Linked DNA regions of Homo sapiens: region 2 is linked to region 1. Evidence: promoter capture Hi-C in 16 types of primary human blood cells and fetal thymus (Javierre and others, 2016). All regions are on one chromosome and are shown on one strand. Each heading gives the region's core, a stretch centred on a gene start or on the middle of the fragment in contact. The rest is flanking DNA. Distances are from core to core; before and after follow the strand shown.

Region 1 (5,811 bases), core at 3,077-5,576:
ACAAAGATGACATCTATGATTTTCATCAAACAAAAGCCAACATCAAATTTTAGATCGATTTGCTTCACTAATTTTTTTAATTCAATAAAAGACTTCAAAATTAAATTTTGACCAAACTTTGAAAGTAACTGGGCCCTAGCCATCACATTTACAATGGAGTAGCTTTTTGCATAGAAGTCTTATCTTCACTTTTTCTGTTTTCACTTGGCCTTTTGATGAATTTGTCTTGTACTAGATGAGTAGGTAGTTTTTCTCAAGATACTACCTGTAACTTTCCTTAGGATAGATTATGTGACATTTTTATTACTTCTGTCACTTAACCAAAGTAGCTTTTTCATTTTCATTTATGATAGGTTTTGTAAATGTCAAATTTCTTGTTAAAGAGTCAGACTTGATATTCCAAAAGGCAAAGGATGATATAAATAATATTCAAGTATACACAACTAGAGTTGGAAATAATTTCAATCACTTTCTCCCACCCTCCCAAAATCAAGGTAACCTAATTTTCAAATAGTTATTTGAAAGGAAGAAATCAAGCTGCAGTTTAAAAAAAAAATGACACAGGATATTCTAAAATGTGATATATCTATCTATAATTCAAGTATAAAGACCATGAATAATCAGAGAAACCAACGTGAAATACATTTGGTATGACTTGCAGCGTACATTTAAAGTTAATTAACCCTGACTTGAATTCCTTAGAATTAACTTTTACAGAATTATAGAGGATTTAAAATTAGGTTTCCATCAATTTTAGAGGTAAGCTAAAACATTTTTTCTCCTGTTATCTCCAAGGAAATAAAACTGTTCAAATGTATTGGTGATTAGGTTATGACTTTCATTTCCTTTCCTTATTTTCTCAATTTTTAGAAAACTATAAACTGGTAGATTCTTTAACATACTTTCAAAGGAAAAGGGAATGACTCAGCTTCTTTATTAAGATCACTGGGTTCAGGATACTCACATAAATTTAGGGTCACAAACACAGCTACTTTTGGGGGCCAAATGTCATGCATGAGGGGCATGTGTCAGGCAGGGATGAGGGCAAGCTGGAGAGTGCCTGCTCATTTACTGCAGTCCAAGAAAGCACGGTCCTGCAAACATGGGGCATCAAAAGGACAATGGCTTCTGCTATGATGTTCAGAGAAGCCCAAAACACATTTTTTTCTAAGTATTCAATCTCCCAATTTTGAAATGTTAGCAATTATTTTCCTGAAAACATTGCCTATGGTCTGTGAGCTGCATTTGGCCTATAAGCCACCATCTGCAAGCCAATACTGCCCAAGAGAAGATAATATTGGGAGCTAATCCAGTAACCACAATGCCTTACAACAAGACATATAATTGTCAAATTCATTTCAAGTCTCATGTTGGCTGATCTGAGCACCATCTTTGAGAGATGAACAAACACAAAAAGGTTGCTTGATGATTTAAGAAACAAAGTAAACAGTTTGATGATTTGAATAGACAGTATCATCAAGTGATTAATAACTTGATACACTCATTTATTTGACAAAGATGTATTGAGTGCCTTGCATGTACCAGGCACTGTTTTAACCACCAAGCATACAGCTGAGCACAAGGCACCTATCCCCGAAGGTGCTTACATTCTAGAGGCAGAACGTAAATCTAACTAAGCAAACAAGAAAAATAGCAGCTGATGATAATGCTCATTCAGAAAATTAAAAACAGTAATTTTTTAACAGGTGTCTGGCTTTCCTATCCTGGTCCATGGATCTCAAACCTCACCCACTGAGGCTGTCAGAGTGTCAAATTCTTCCTCTTTACTCCTTTTGCTCACGTTATGAGATCACTTGTGGTATGTTTTAATAAATTGAAGGCCACTTTATTTTAAAGTAGTTACACTTTAATCTTCTTGACTAGATTTGGTGGAAATATCAATCCAGGAGGAATTTAGGGAAACCTCTAATCTAATCAACAGCTTAATTACAATGCCTGGGTCAGTGCTGCAGCTAGTTAATTTCAAACATTTTATGTTGCCTCCTTTTAGCTTCAGTTTTAGAGGATACCATTTTCCAGTGTGTCCCTAAATTCTAAGAATGTACCATTTGAGGATTTTTACCACCTTTTGCGAACAAAGACTAATAACATCTTCACAATGAAACTCTTTTCCTAGGGCCAGGGCTTCTCCCACGTAAAAATGCACATTAACAAACATCTTTGTAAACTCTTCCCTATAGTTGCCCCTGTATGATGAAATGGAGAAATCCGGTAATGTCCAGTCAGAAAATCTGGGTTCAAAACCAGATATTTGGCTCAGCTGGGGACCAACTCTTTGATCTGGTAGTCAGTCACCTGATCCTTGCTGTTTCTCTTTGAAAGCCCACTTCTTGGGGCGCTGAATGTGAGGACTGAGTGAGAGTGTGAATTTGAAAGCCAACTCTGAAACGCTGGCTATGATAGTTATTCTGATTGGAAGGGCCATTAAGGTCAATGGCAATGCTCCTTTTGTGATCAGTTACAAGAAAACAAATGGGTCCTTGTGACTGTGGGGGAAGGGAGGCAGAGCCAGACACAAAGTGGACCTCTTCTGGAAAATCAGCCACTGAAAGGAAAATAAATAAAATCCGTAAAGTTATATTTCAATTCAAAAAGAAATGTGGATTGTATGTAATGGCAAGAGGAGCACTGGTAATAATACATGTCTAACATTCATTGCGCACTTACTCTGTTCCAGGCATGGAGGTCAGAACTTTGCATGTATTAGCTCTTCAAATGAGGGGAGGAGAGGGAAGGAAAAGAAAAGTTAAGCTAATAAATAATGTGAAGTTGAAAAATTACCACGTACACAACGTGCACTATCGTGTCCCCCCCCGCCCCAAGCCCCCAGCTCTTTATATATGTGGTTTCCAGACCCATTTCTCAGCGGTCTGGTGTCTTTTGCAGCCCTTAGGGCCCCTTCCGCCCATTGTTATCTAATCACCCCTTCTCGGCCACGCAGGAAGGTCCACAACCTCCCCTGTCCCCCAAGACCCGCCCCCCGGCAGCCTTCAGAAATAGTTCTCTGGTACGTATGTGCCAGCATTTTATGCAGTAAACACATGTTGCCCTTAACACTGAACTGCAGGTTAAAAATGTATTCCACTAAATTGTGCAGCGGTTAGCTGAGCAAATAATGAAAATGCAAAAGAATACATTCAGTATATGGAGCTTAGAATATATCCTTTTGGAAAGCTAAACATTTTTTTTTTTTTTGCCCCAAATAAGACTAGAAATGGATTGCTCCATTTAAGACTTCCATTAATAAACTTCTCAGAATATGAAATGCCTCCAAAATGTGGGGACGCTGGGTTGAAAGGTGCCGGATAATTCTCTTTGGTGCGTGCGCTGGGTGCAGGAGGAAATATGCTAATGTAGCCGTTTGCCGCAGGGCTGGTGTTATTTATACAGCGCTGGCTGGGCAAGGTTGGCGCTGGAGCAGGAGAGGAGGGAGAGGTTTGTCTTCTTGTGTGAGAGTATAGATGTGTGCGCCTGTGCACACGGCGTTCCAAACGTGAATACAAGATCTTAGGGAGGGGGTGGGGAATGCCATCACGTTTATACTGTGTGTATTATAACTTGTGTTGGAGATATATCCCAGCATCGTGCTTACATCGCATGCACTTAGGAGTGGGGGAAGAAATGGCGATTTGGGAGTGGGTGCGGCGGGTCGCAGGTGGCCAGACACTGCGGGGGACTGGCGACCTGAAATTGGCAAAGGCGCCTCCTTGACCCTGCTCCACGGACACAAAAATCAACCTTATTCGCTCCTGGAAAAAGCGCAGAGGGTTGTTCCCGAAGGCTGAAGACCCTCGGGCTTGGGACTGGGAGCGGGGCGCGGGCAGCGGGACCGCCGGGCACCTCTGAAGAGACAGAGGTCACGGAGACCTGGCGCGCGCGGAGTGGGTGGGGGGCCCGCGCGGCTGCGGGAGCCCAGCCTCAGAGAAGACCCGGCCCACACGTTCTCAGCGCACGCCGACTTTGCCGGGACCCGTCGCCGGCCGGCGACCCCTGCTACGCGCGTCTCCTCCTCCCCCGCCCCGCCCGGCGCGAAACGGGCAACGGGCAGGGGATCCTCCAGCCAGGCGGGCCCGGGGTGTCCCGTTTCCCCCGCCCCCCTCCCGTGGATCCCGGGCGGCGGCGGCCGCGCGTCCGGGCTGGAGGGGGCGCTCGCGAGCAGGAGCCGAGCGCAGCAGGTGCCGCGGTTACCTCCACCTCGGCGGGGGGAGAGGGGGCGGGCCGGGGGGCAGGGAGGAGGGGGAGGAGGAGGAGGAGGAGGAGGAGTGGGGCCGGCTCCAGGAGCTGGAGAGCGCGGCCGGCTCGGCAGGCTGGGTCCAGAGCTCGCGGCTTCCGGGAGGCGCCCGAAGTCGGAGAAATACAGCGCGGCCACCCCGGGAGCAGCAGCCTTTGCCCGCACCGCCGCCCGCAGGGCCCTGAACCGCCGGCAAGGGCGCGGGCCGGGCGCGGCGCCGGCTCCTCCTCCTGCCGCGTCCGGCGCGGAGCAGCGGAGAGCGGCGGGCTCGGCAGCCGGCGCCCGGGCCGCGGAACTGATGAGCCGCGGCGGCTGAGGGCCCGGCCGGCCTCTGCCCGCCTCTGCCCGGCGCCCGAGCGGGGCCGCAGCGCCCGGGGCGCGGGGTCCGGCGGGTGACATGGGGGCGGCCTGACGCACCCGGAGCCGCCGAGCGCTCTCTCTCGAGCCGCGGGCCCTCCTCGGCGGCAGCGGCTGCAGGCGCCTGGCCCGGCGCGCTGTGCCCGGGGCGCCCGCGGAGCCTCCGCCGCGCTCTATGCGCCTCTGCGGGAGCCGCGGGCCCGGGCCATGGCCATAGACCGGCGGCGCGAGGCGGCGGGCGGCGGGCCTGGGCGGCAGCCGGCCCCGGCCGAGGAGAACGGCTCCCTGCCGCCCGGGGACGCGGCGGCCTCGGCGCCCCTCGGGGGACGCGCGGGCCCCGGCGGCGGCGCGGAGATCCAGCCGCTGCCCCCACTGCATCCTGGAGGCGGCCCGCACCCGAGCTGCTGCTCCGCGGCTGCGGCCCCGAGCCTCTTGTTGCTGGACTATGACGGGTCGGTGCTGCCCTTCCTCGGGGGCCTGGGCGGGGGCTATCAGAAGACCCTCGTGCTGCTCACCTGGATCCCGGCGCTGTTCATCGGCTTCAGCCAGTTCTCGGACTCGTTCCTCCTGGACCAGCCCAACTTCTGGTGCCGCGGGGCCGGCAAAGGCACCGAGCTGGCAGGGGTCACCACCACAGGCCGGGGCGGGGACATGGGCAACTGGACCAGCCTCCCCACCACCCCCTTCGCCACTGCCCCCTGGGAGGCTGCGGGCAACCGGAGCAACAGCAGCGGCGCGGACGGAGGCGACACACCACCCCTGCCATCCCCTCCGGACAAGGGGGACAACGCCTCCAACTGTGACTGCCGCGCATGGGACTACGGCATCCGCGCCGGCCTCGTCCAGAACGTGGTCAGCAAGGTAAGGGCCGCAGCCGCCCAGTCCCTCCAACCCTCTCCCTGCAGACCGAGGTCCAAGCCCGAGCCAGCGGGAGAACCGAAGTCCCCAAAGTGGTGGTGCTAGAGTGTGTGTAGGGCATTCCGCATTGGCTTAATCTCCTTCCGTCCCCCAAACCACATGCCTTTACTTGGGTGTAAAGGGAGCACCATAGCCTTTACTAGTTTGCACCCAAACTCCTGTCCCAGTACGCGGATGGAAAGCGCGCCCTTCCCCCACCCTCGGGGCGAGGCAGCTGACCTGTCACCAGCCCCCTCTGGAGGAGTCGGACTGGCGTCGTTCAAGGTCTGCTGGGGGAGTCGGGA
Region 2 (6,045 bases), core at 733-3,232, 540 kb before region 1:
AATGGCTGTGAACTTCTTCTAACTTCTAACTTTCCAAGTTGTCTCCTTTTGGCCCTAGGAGTAGAATTTTTCTTTAATTCTCAGCTGGTGAGATCTGTTGCCACCACAGTTCAAAATAACGATTAAGTACTGAGGCCAGCCCATGCCTGATCCTTCAGTGATGTTAGGAAGGTGAATGCTTGGCTGTTTGAAAGCCTCCTTATTGTCATTTCCAATCCATTCTCTCTGCTTCTATTCCTTTTCTCCCAAAACATTTCAGTGTTGTCAGTTCATACTCTGGAGTCTTTGGAAAAAGAGATTGTTGTCTTTTTATGAATTTGTCCAAATTTTAGTTGTTTCTGGTTAAGTTTAGACCAAGAGGGATCCATGTCCCTACAGGATTACCCCTATTTCAACCAGTAGATGAGGAATATCCAGCTTTAATTTGTCAGAGCAAAAATCCATTAATGTTTTCTCATTACTCATAAAAAAAAATCCAGCTCCTTACTGTGGCCTATAAACCTCTCCATGATTGGCCCTCCTTAATTTATCTCTTTTAGTCTTGAAGTTTCAGGCACACCTCCTTTTCTTTTATTGAAATTCTCAAAGCCAGGTACAGTGGCTCACCTGAGTTTATTCAAGGCTAATCCGTAATTAGGGAAATAAAGGTTACAGCTGCCTGTTAGTGACTCAGGTCGTATAATCACATTCCTTTAAGGCTCAAAATAACGTTCCAATAGCTTTGATTTTGAATTACTTATTTTCACAAGTTCTATAAAATTACAGAGTTCTCATCTATTTTTGTTGGCAGCTGTTTGCCTAGCAGTTGAAAGTGCTTAGCACATGATAGTATATGATAAACATTTGTTTAATTTATTTCAATATTGTCAGTCCATATTCCAGCTTCTTTGGCAAAGGAGACTGTTGTTTTTATATGAATTTATCCAAATTTTAGTTGTTTCCAGCTAAGTTTAGACCAAGAGCCCCCACAGAATTACTTCCATGTCAACTAGTAGAGGAAGAGCTTTAATTTAGGATTTAAATGCCACACCACAATTATCTAAAGTGACTGAATTGAGCTACTGAATAATAGTCCTTCTAAAGAAGATTTTAGACACACATTTCATTTCTGTTATTGCTGACAAGTGTTTTATTTTACAGAATAAAAGGCATCTTGCCTGGGATAAAATTTCGAAAGGCTGTGTTTTTGTAGCACTTTCTTTTTTGGAAGGATCTCTTTTTAGCTACTCTGTGTCATGGTGATGTTGAGTTCTCTGTTGGAAGCTAGAGTTCCTGGGTTTTTTGATGTTTCTAGGCTTTTGGGTTTTGTTTAAGATTTGTGTTTTGGGAAGGAACATTTCCATGGTTACGCCCATTCCTTCTACCATCCTTGAAAAAACGAGCCAGTAGAGTAATCTGATTCCTGGATTACTACTACACAGATGTCTTTTGTATCTGCCTACACATGAAACTGCTAGGCAAGTTCCATTTCCATGCATTTACTTCCTTCAGTGCTTTTTAAAAATGAAGCACTTTTAAGATTAGGAATGAAAGACTTGGATTGGCAAGTTAAACAGGGATTGGCCTACGTTATGTTAATAGTCTAAACTCAATGTAGGATTAATTTAGAGGTACAGTATATGAAGGGAGAGACTGTTTTGGGAACAACTAAATCGAAGCTTTGAGCAGAATTTGCACACATGTGAGTAATACTATATGCAGAAAGACTGCTGTACTTAAAAATAGTTTTCAGGTTTTTAAATATAAAGTTTCATGTTGGAATAGTAAAATAAAACATATGAACTTTTACTGACATGAAGCAGTAAAATTAACTTTTCCTTGGAACAGCTTGCATGCTCATTGCTGCTCCACACAAACCTAGGTTAAAGATGCCCATGATCTAGCAGTTTTCTTCTCTGAACATTGCAGAGCATTTGCACAGACATGCTTGAATTTACACTCATGAGTCCATTTCAAGTAAGAAGAGGGAGTAAGAGAGGGACCTCCTTCTCAGGGTTAAGGAAGGCCTAAATTATGAAAAAGTAGTGCAGCTTTTTTCTTAAGTTAAAGTAACGGTAAATTTACACCACATTTCTCTATGAATCCAGTATATGAAAAGTTTAATTTGCGTGTTAACTATTGCTGTGCAGACAGCTTGTCAAGTGATGATTTTGACAGCCTGGTGTCTGTCTCCATTCTGCTGGAACATCAGACGCCATTTCTCTTCTTCCTGAGAAAACCACCTCTCATACTTTGGTATCCCTCTAAAGTGTTTCAATTGTAAATTACTACTAATATATAATTACTATTCATTTATAGAAGCTTCTAGCTTAAACATAAAAATATACTAAAAGTGAAACAACCGTAATCTTAACCTCTAGACATAGATTATTTTTCTATGAACACATTAACATATATGTCATAGTTACTATTGTTTTTTACAATAAAAGGCTCATACTATACATACATACAACTTGTTCTGGTATATATTTTGAATCTTCATAATAGCATTTGTAGATATGCTTTATTTTTTGTAGTTTTGTTTTTTTCTTTAGCCATCCTTGCAAATACTATGTATTTTGCTTCCTTAAATCAGTATTTCAGTAGGAAAAATTCTTAGAAATTAAACTGTGAGGGCAAGCAATTGTGAACATTTACATTTTAATAAGTACCAACAAATTACCTTAAAACGTGTACCGATGGATACTCTTAGTAAAATGTAAGAGAGTGATTCACTACATTCTTACTAGCTCAGGCATTATCAATTTTTTTTTATTTTAAATTACTGCCTAAGAAATACAGTCATATATCTTGTTCTTTTATTTTAAATTTCTATTTGAGAAGTTATGCACTTTTGTTTGTTTGTTTTTTGAGACAGAGTCTTACTCTGTCATCCAGGCTGGAGTGCAGTGGCACAATCTCAGCTCACTGCAACCTCTACCTCTCAGGTTCAGGTGATTCTCGTGCCTCAGCCTCCCGAGTAGCTGGGATTACAGGCGCCTGCCACCACGCCTGGCTGAGTTTTGTATTTTCAGTAGAGATGGGGTTTCACCGTGTTGGACCAGCTGGTTTGGAATTCCTGACCTCAGGTGATCCCCCCACTCAGCCTCCCAAAGTGCTGGGATTGCAGGCGTGAGCCACCATGCCTAGCCAGTTACACACTTTTTAATGTGATTATTAATCACCATTATTTCTACTTATTCAAGCTGACTGTTCACATATTTTACTCTTTTTAAAGCATGCATTTTAAATAAATTGATAATAAATGTTTTTGTCAAATATTGCACGTCTTCTCCCCTACATTTATTGAATGCTTACTGCATGCTAGGCTCTGTGCTAAATACTTTACATACATTATTCCATTTAATCCTCACATTAATTTTGGGGAATGTGTTATTTTCATGTTCACACAAGGAAAATGGGTTCAGAGAGGTTAAGGAATTTGCCCAAATTTACAGTTAGTTTATTTTTATTTTTATTTTGAGACAGGGTATGTCTCTATCACCCAGGCTGGAGTGCAGTGGCACGATCCCAGCTCAGTGCAAACTCCGCCTCCTAGGTTCAAGCAATTCTAGTGCCTCAGCCTCCTGAGTGGATGGGACTGTAGGTGCCTGCCACCATACCCAGCTAATTTTTTGTAGAGGCAGGGTTTCACCATGTTGCCCAGGCCTGGTCTTGAATTCCTGAGCTCAAGTGATCTGCCCGCCTCAGCCTCCCAAAGTGCTGGGATTACAGCCACGAGCCACTGTGCCCGCTCCACAGTTTTAGAAGTGGCATTCAAACAGAGCTCAATCACAATAAAAGGCACATCACAAACTATGATAATCCCCCACCTCTTGGATTGTCTTTTATCTCTTAACTTTGTGGAGGGTTTTTGCTTTGATTTTGTTTGTTATGTTATAATGAAGTTTTAAATTGTTAATCATTCCATATGGTGTCTAGGTTTTCCGCCATGATTATAAAGCCCTTCCCTAGCCCCATGTGATACAATTTTCTTTCTTATAATACTTTTATATTTCATTTCTTTTTAAGTCTTTGGTATATCTGACAGCAATTTATGTATGATTCAGATGTATATTTTTTTCCCCAAAGGTCCCAACACCTTTACTGAATAATCTTTTTCCCATAATTTGAGATGACACCTTTATCATACACTTATATGCCCTGTATATTTGAGTCTATATCTGGACTCCCTTCTGGTATAAAGAAGTGCAGTTGACTTTTGTATAACGACCTTATACCTGTCCACCTTGTTAAACCCTCTTACTATTTCTAATATCATGTCTACAGATTCTGATTTTCTGTTAAAATGGTTAATAATTCTGTCTCTCTCTCTTTTTTTTTTTTTTTGACATGGAATTTTGCTCTTATTGCCCAGGCTGGAGTGCAGTGGTACAGTCTTGGCTCACTGCAACCTCTGCCTCCTGGGCTCAAGTGGTTCTCCTGCCTCAGCCTCCCAAGTAGCTGGGATTACAGGCGCCTGCCACTACACCTGGCTAATTTTTGTATTTTTAGTAGAGATGAGGTTTCACCATGTTGGCCAGTCTGGTCTTGAACTCCTGACCTCAGGTGACCCGCCTGTCTCAGCCTCCCAAAGTGCTAGGATCACAGGCGTGAGCCACCGCGCCTGGCCCTTAACATGGTTAATAATTCTCTGATAAAGATTGTTCTAGTCTTTTTCAATCCTTTCTCATCCTTTTGATTCAACTTATTTTTCTTATGTGCTATTGAAGTCCTTCAAGTCTATGTTGTTTTTTTTTATTTCTAAAAATAAAACCAAGAATACCAGAAAACCCTAAGGCTGAAGTAACTGAAAACCAAACTCAAAAATTGATCTGTAGGGTTATTCAGTTACTCTGTTGGTTAGTCACCAGGTCGTGTAAGTGCAAGTCCTAATCAGGAAAAACCAAGACTTTGTGAATTAGGATGGGGACACTCCAGAGGATTCGGAGACCTCCTTGACTCCATGGAGTACTCTGAACTCAATGCCTTGAGCCTCCTCTGCTTGTCAAAGCCTTTCCTTCCTCTTAATCCTCCCGAGGGTGTTTTCCTCCTGACACCAAATGTGTGATGTCCGTTCTAACACCAGCCATTTCTCCAGTTCTCTAGACATCAACCGGATGTCCAATAATTCAATTAAATTCTGATACTGTCTGCCTGCGTTAGCATCCACCCCTACAAGTTAAAGGCTCAGTCCCACAATACTTCCCTACTTCAGATGTCAGCTGTAAATGGGGTGCCCAGGTGATCCACATTTCTGCCCAGGTGACTACAAATTTGGGGGTTCCCATGGCCCCTTCCCCTCAGTTTCTATAATTTGCTAGAATGCCTCACAGAACTCAGCAAAGCCCTGAAGCACTGATTATTCTCATTTTATTATAAAAGATAACAGCTCAGGCCTGGCACGGTGGCTCACACCTATAGTCTCAGTAACTTGGGAGGTTGAGGTGGGAGTATTAGAGCAGGTAGTTAGACGTGAGCAGGGCAGAAGAGGGTCCTTCCACCACCAGGAATGTTAGGCAACCATCAGGTGATGGTCAGGTGGTTGTTAACTGTCTCTTTAAAATAATAATTGGTTGCAGCCAGTGCTAGGGAAAGGCAGTCTCCCAACAGATAGAAAACACCTGAAACTGGTGACTAGCAGCTTCCCAATATGATCTCAGGAGTTGGGTGAGTGGGCTCAAGCATGTGCACTCAAAGGCAAAATGGCAGAGTTTAACGGGTATATGACCTTCCTCTAGGAACATTCAACTTGTAGGAAAGAACGCCTCAATGTGCATTTGTTCAACTTCAGTAAACACACTGTGCATTGGCCCCCTCCTAAGTGCTGGCAGGCCACCGCACATGCAGAATACCAGCATATGAAACCCCAAGTCAGAGGTCAAACTGGGCACTTGAACTCCTCAAGACTCCTGCTTGGCTATCTTCCAAGTGTACCTTACATTCTTTGATTCCTGCTTTAAAACTTTTTAATAAACTTTCACGCCTGCTCTAAAACTTACCTCCATCTCTCTCTCTGCCTTATGCCCTTCAGTCGAACGAATTCTTTCTCCTAAGGAGGCAAGA

What was found. Contacts are between HindIII fragments. The CHiCAGO score rates a contact against its expected background, and 5 or more counts as called.
Region 2: a contact is called between a fragment that was not itself captured here and the fragment with the promoter of SLC22A23 in region 1, in 1 of 17 cell types (endothelial precursors). The highest score is 5.4, in endothelial precursors.

What each region holds. Positions count from the first base shown.
Region 1 is chr6:3,455,565-3,461,375 of GRCh38, reverse strand. It overlaps SLC22A23 (solute carrier family 22 member 23), which reads left to right and starts at 4,326. Exons shown (of 10, transcript NM_015482.2): 1 at 4,326-5,470. The coding sequence starts at 4,817. LOC643327 (a long non-coding RNA gene) reads right to left here and starts at 5,673. Exons shown (of 2, transcript NR_147844.1): 1 at 5,125-5,673. RefSeq lists silencers at 4,049-4,268, 4,329-4,558. The HindIII fragment of the contact is 25,330 bases long and covers 1-5,811 here.
Region 2 is chr6:3,992,648-3,998,692 of GRCh38, reverse strand. No RefSeq gene overlaps it. Among named protein-coding and RNA genes, the nearest start is that of PRP4K, 26 kb to the left of the region's middle. The HindIII fragment of the contact is 643 bases long and covers 1,661-2,303 here.